2 separate regions of the Homo sapiens genome follow, and region 1 is linked to region 2. The links are contacts of gene promoters, found by promoter capture Hi-C in blood cells and fetal thymus (Javierre and others, 2016). All regions are on one chromosome and are shown on one strand. Each heading gives the region's core, a stretch centred on a gene start or on the middle of the fragment in contact. The rest is flanking DNA. Distances are from core to core; before and after follow the strand shown. Region 1 holds the start of CCAR2 (cell cycle and apoptosis regulator 2). Region 2 overlaps PEBP4 (phosphatidylethanolamine binding protein 4).

Evidence for each region. The method cuts DNA at HindIII sites, captures the fragments that hold promoters and counts their contacts. A CHiCAGO score of 5 or more calls a contact.
Region 1: the fragment with the promoter of CCAR2 here is called in contact with a fragment that was not itself captured in region 2 in 13 of 17 cell types (naive CD4 T cells, non-activated CD4 T cells, naive CD8 T cells and 10 more); the score reaches 10.8 in naive CD4 T cells.

Annotation. Positions count from the first base shown.
Region 1 is chr8:22,603,389-22,606,233 of GRCh38, reverse strand. CCAR2 (cell cycle and apoptosis regulator 2) reads right to left here and starts at 1,477. Exons shown (of 21, transcript NM_001393997.1): 1 at 1,392-1,477; 2 at 403-498; 3 at 58-149. The coding sequence starts at 460. C8orf58 (chromosome 8 open reading frame 58) reads right to left here. Exons shown (of 7, transcript NM_001013842.3): 7 at 2,092-2,845. It overlaps LOC107986876 (a long non-coding RNA gene), which reads left to right and starts at 1,234. Exons shown (of 1, transcript NR_160769.1): 1 at 1,234-2,845. RefSeq lists silencers at 1,060-1,119, 1,180-1,479 and enhancers at 1,143-1,643, 1,650-1,759. The HindIII fragment of the contact is 4,257 bases long and covers 1-2,845 here.
Region 2 is chr8:22,753,505-22,756,354 of GRCh38, reverse strand. The region is part of intron 4 of PEBP4 (phosphatidylethanolamine binding protein 4); the gene reads left to right. It overlaps LOC107986925 (a long non-coding RNA gene), which reads right to left. Exons shown (of 3, transcript XR_007060852.1): 1 at 1,493-2,850; 2 at 347-627. Among named protein-coding and RNA genes, the nearest start is that of EGR3, 61 kb to the right of the region's middle. RefSeq lists an enhancer at 1,183-1,292. The HindIII fragment of the contact is 743 bases long and covers 1,149-1,891 here.

The DNA of each region.
Region 1 (2,845 bases), core at 228-2,727, 150 kb after region 2:
GCCTCCATGCATTCAGTCCCAAGGGCTGAAACTTACTACAAGGGATGCCGAACCTACCTGAAGGTGCCTGGCATTCTGGGACAGTTCTGTGGCCACAGGAGGAGTGAGCAAACCAGGAGGAGGGCCCAGAAGAGATGTTGAAGCTGTGCCTATGGGGAAAGAGAAGCAATCTCCAGGAACCGCCCCTACCACCTTAAGCACGAGTCAACCAAAGGATGTGGTAAATCCAAAGGCTACAGCTCCAGCCAGCTCCTCCACAGAGCTTCACTGGCAATCACTGTGGGCATCTCCTGCTTTCCAGAGGAACATCAGCAGCAAATTGCTCTCCACCAGGGAAACCCCAAACTAACTCCAGAGCACATACTTCCCAGGATGAGGCCAGGTAGGGAGAACAGTGATCACCTGAGAAGTTGCGTCCCCCTGGAAGCGGGTTGATCCGCTGGCGCTTAAACTGGGACATTGGGAACGCTGTCCTCTTTCAGAGTCGTGGGGAAAAGGCTTCAATCCAAAAAGAAAGAAATTAACAGCTTATAAGGGAAATTTCCATCTATACCCGGAAAAGTGGAGAATCTTAAGTAAGGATATTTCGGAAAACAGGGAGGTGGGTAATAAGAATGAATGAAAGCAATGGATGGAGAGAATATAGAGAAGAAAGAAATGAAACAAGAAATTACATTGTTCCAGTTTGCCCTGACAATAACCTAGTGGTGCATGATACTGTCATGCTGTTTTACAGACAAGGAAACTGATGCTCAGAGAGATCAAGAGACTTGCCCGGGGCCACATAACCAGGTAGTGACAAAACTGCTACTCACACCCAGGCCTCCCAACAACTTAGCGCTCCTCTCACTATGCCACGCCACCCCCAGAGTAGCTGGCGGGGTGAGGGGCTCGAGAGAGCCCCGATGACATTCCTTCGTTCAAAAACATCCGCCAAAACCCTCCACGCAAGGCCCGGAAAAATGGAGGAGGCCGGTGCCGGCGAGGAGACTGTGTGGGCCCTCTCCCCGGAAGCCCGACCCGTTGTTTCCTCGACCGGCTGGTGGGAAGGCAGCTCCCTGGCCGACCAAACGCGAAACCGGCTGCGCGCCACCCTCCTGCTCCCACGCTCCCGGGCCCTCCGCTCCGGCCTCAGCAGCCGCCAGCGCCGGGTCTCCCAGCAGAGCCGCGGCGAGGCCACCAAGGGAGGACTGAGGCGCGCGGTTTCTCCTCCTCCCGCCCGCCCCCAAGGCCGAGGCCGTTGCCAGGGAGACGGGACTTGCAGTCCAAAGAGGGGCTCGGCCCCTTCCGCGCCCCACGCATCTTCGCCGCCCGGCCCTCGCAGCCCCTCGGCCAGCGGAGGGGCGGAGGGGCGAAGGGGCAGAGGGGCGGCAGGGGGCCCCCCAACCCACCTGCGGGCCAGGGCAGCGACACCGGGGGGACAAAGACACCCGGAACCACCACAGCCGCTGCTGCCGCCGCCACCGGAAGCGCCTCTCCGGAAGCGCGACCACTGGTCGGAAGCTGCCGCTCTCCCGGATATGGTCCCTCCCTCGTCTCCGCCGACCTCTCCCTTCCCCCACGCCGGCTTGCCATCCCGCGGCAACTGGGGAGCGGAAGTGCGCCTTCCCGGATCGGATGCGCGTCAGGAAGTCGCGCCTCGGTAGTGTCCTCGCTAAAGAATCCCATCAGGAAAGAAGGCTTCGGATCATTGGTTCCGGGCTCAAAGGAAGCGGGAGCTGGGCCCCCCAAACACAAGGGACCCCCGACTGCCTACCACGCTCGCCTCCCTCTGGCAGTCGAGACTGCAACAGATAAGGAAACCAGCCCCTCCTGACTGGAGGAGAAGGATGCCTATCAGTGACCATTTCTAAGAGACATTCCTGGTCTGACTCAAGCCAGTGACCACCATGCCTAGCCAGTCAGGAATCAGTGCCCTAATTCTCAAATATGAAATCTAAGAGGCCTCAATGAAATGACCTGCTCAAAATCTTGCCAGGAGACTGGCCATTTTAGTCCCCATTAGCAATCCCAGCCCCCCCTTATCCTCCGACCTCCCCATCATCACTCCAGCCTTACTTTCCCCTTTCCTATTCACCTGAGGTTTACAAAGCACTTTGAGGCAGTTTAATCTCACTTTATCCTCATAACAAGTCTGTGAGGTAGATAGGGCAGGCATCATTATTCCCAGCGGGAAGCTGTGGCTCAGAAAGGTTGACTTGGGGTCTAAAAACTAGTACAGGCATCTGGTTTGAATTAAGACCTGTAAACGCTAGTACGGAGCAGAGAAGCTGAGCACTGGCTTTGAAAGTTATTCAGTTCCCAGGTTGTCCCTGATCTTCCTCATTCCTTGTGCAGTCTTCAGGAGTCCGGGGCAAGATTCCATGCAGAGGCAGCCAAAGCCACACCGTTCTCTGTCCCAGGGCTGCCAGCATGGCTCTGAGGAGGAAAGCTCAGTAACTGCCCACTGGGGAATAAAGGTCAGTTCCATCCTTCTGCAGTGACCTCCCCCAGAATATCAACCCTTTGGATGCATTATTTCAGAAGAGATGGTTGGATCCAGCCAGCTTGCAACACTGACAGTCACACAGAGATATGCATACCATTGCGCATAAATACACATCTGCAACATGCTGGGCCCAGACAGGTCACCATGCCAAAAACACTCCACGGACACCTGACAATGAGTGAGTTCACATTGTGGAAGCCCAGGGATTTCTGGTGAGGAGGAAGAGCCCTGGAGCTGCGGCATCTTGGGGGCCTCTCAAGAAACCAAGGTTCCTGACCAGACTGCTTAGAGGAGAAAGATTCAGCCCTCGACTCAAGAGAGGAGGGCAGGCGTCAGCAGCTTTTCCTGGCAATGTGG
Region 2 (2,850 bases), core at 271-2,770:
AGCTGGGGCTGTCCGGGGTTAAGGGTCTCTGGCAGGGAGGGTCACATCCTGGGAGCCCAGGGGCAGAGGTTCTCGCACAAGCCCGCCCTCCCCAGTCCTGCTCCAGCCCTGCGAGGCCAGAAGGAGGCGCCAGCTGTTCAGCTCCTGCCTGAGTCTTGCCACCTTGTCTCCAGACCATCCCACGCTAGCCTCGCAAGGCTGTCGCTCTGGCCTGAGCACAGAAGATGCTCAGACAAGGAGTTAAATATGGGTCTCAGCTCAGGGCAGCTCAGTAGCCAACTTCCCCGCTGAATCTATTATGATACATCATTATAATGATTATTATCAATAAGTATTTAGCGAGCACCTTTAGTTGTGTCCCCGTTGGAGGCATTGCAGGAGCTTCAAAGATGAATAAGATGCAGATGTACGGCAGCAGCAGGAGCTTGGGATTGCAATGCTTTTCCTCCAGAGGGGAGAGCGTGTTCAGAGAGAGGGACTCTAAGCAAGTGGCTCCGTTTTCTGAGTGAGGTCAGATTGAAACCCTGTGCAAAGGTTGGCACAGCCAGCCTCAACCCCAGATGCCCAGGATAGGGCGGGATTCTTGAGGCCAGTTTGCTTGCTGATGTACTTACCCACTGCACATGGCTGAAAAAAAAGAACAATAAATGTCTAACATTATCAGTAATGGATGGTGATGATGATGACAAAAATGATGTTAGAAAAGAGTATACAATTTTGCCCCAGCACGGTGGCTCACGCCTGTAATCCCACCACTTTGGGAGGCCAAGGTGGATGGATTACTTGAGGTCAGGAGCTTGAGACCAGACTGGCCAACATGGTAGAACCCCATCTCTACTAAAAATACAAAAATTAGCTGAGTGTGGTGGCGGGCACCTGTAATCCCAGCTACTCAGGAGGCTGAGGCAGGAGAAACGCTTGAACCCGGAAAGCAGAGGTTGCAATGAGCCGAGATCACGCCACTGCGCGGCAGCCTGGGTGACAGAGCATGACTCCGTCTCAAAAAAAAAAAAAAAAAAAAAAAAAAAGAGGGAGAGAAATGAGTATACGATTTTGGCCCAAAGCCCTGGGAACTTCAGCTCTTCCTTCCTGCCTATTGGCATTTCTGTTACACTCCGCTAGATAATAGAAAGCCAGGAGCAGAAGCTTGAGAAACATTTAAGAATCACTCAAGCAGATCTTTGGACTCCAGGCAAGACTCAACTAAATCATCCAAGAAGAGTCACCGTTATAGCAGCAGGTGAACTCAGGAGTGGTTTCGAAACCCGGGAGTGGAATAATGGCCTCTTGGGCCCTTCCCCACTTTCCCACACCTAAGTTAAGGGAAAGCCCCAGCCCAGGCTCTCAGGAGACAGTAATAACCACCAAGGGCCATATTCCCTCCTCATTAGCCTACCAGATTCACAGTAGTTAAGAGCCGGAAGGAGTCTCAGTCCAGCCCTCCCATTCTATAGATGAGAACACTGAGGCCCAAAGAGGAGAACTGACTCACCCAGGGCCACACAGCAGAGATGGGTCTCAAACTCCCACATCCTTTCATTGCACTGTGAAAACCAGAGAGAGGTGAGGGAGGGGAGAGATGTGGGGAAATTATCCACCTCCTGAGCCTGCAGAGGTCTGTGTGATCCATACTCCCTGCCTAGCTGGCTCAATATCAGGCAGATGACAGCTTCATGTGGAGGGAGACCAACCGCCCCAAGGAGGCCACACAAATGGCCATGAAGCCAAGTCAGGGTGTGCAGTTTCTAGAATGAGCCTTTCCTCTCTGCTTTGCTCCCTGAAAAGAGCAAAAGGCTCTCTCACTTCCAGGCCTGCTGGCAAATTTCTGATGAGAAATCTACTCCAGCTTCTAACTCCCAAAGATCTCCCAGGCATCTACTTGGGATAAGCTTTCCTAGCAATTTTTAAAGCCAATTAGAGAAAAATTAAGGAATTAAATAGAAAAATTTGTGTTGGTTAAGGTCATAAAATCATTCATTCACTCAACACACGTCTACAGAGTGAGGATTCAGTCACAGAGACAAGGTCTCTGATCTTAATACACCCGCAGTCCAGTAGGTAAGGTAGAAAAATGAGCAGTTATCCCAGGGACTTTCACAACTACGATGTAAGATACTGGAAGCACCAGGAGGGAGCACCCTGTGGGTGGGGCGGCCAGGGGTCTAGGGCAGCTTCCCAGAGGAACAGACATCAGACCCTGGGGCTTGGAGAGCCGCTGAAAGCCCAGAGCCCATCCTGAGAAAGATAAAATTTGATCTGTTTGCTTCCATTTTCCACTTTCTCTTCAACCCTCCTCTCCCTCCATCTGAACATACCCCATCAGCAACCCTCGTTCCTGCTCTATAGTCAGACTTTCCCATCTTCTTCCCCATTTGGGACCCTCAGCCCACACCCTCAGCCCACACCCTATCAAACATGTAGAATCAGCAGAGGTTGTGGGGAGGGGCCCCACTCACACCCAGACAGATGTGCTCTGTTCCCCGCACAGCTGTCCAGGCGGTAGCCCATCTGCGCTCACTTCCTGCCTCCCAGCTCCAGCCCCTCACACCTCCCACACAAGGGCGGGGAAGTCTGGTCCTGAGATTCATCCCAAAGCCAATGTTGAGGCGGCCACCAGCCCGGCAAAGCCCCAGACCCTGGCTCCCACCTTCCCCTCTCCTCCACAAGGAGTGGTGGACCAGGAAGGGCTTCAGCAAGGTGGAGACTTTGCCTAAGCCACTCTGGAGGACTCTGCCTTGAAGTTCAGCTTCAGTCTCTTGGCAGTTGTGGGAGCTGCCTAGCTCTGAAGTTCTCCCAGCATCATGTGTCCACATGAAACACGCCAATATCACTGATCTGATTTCATTATTT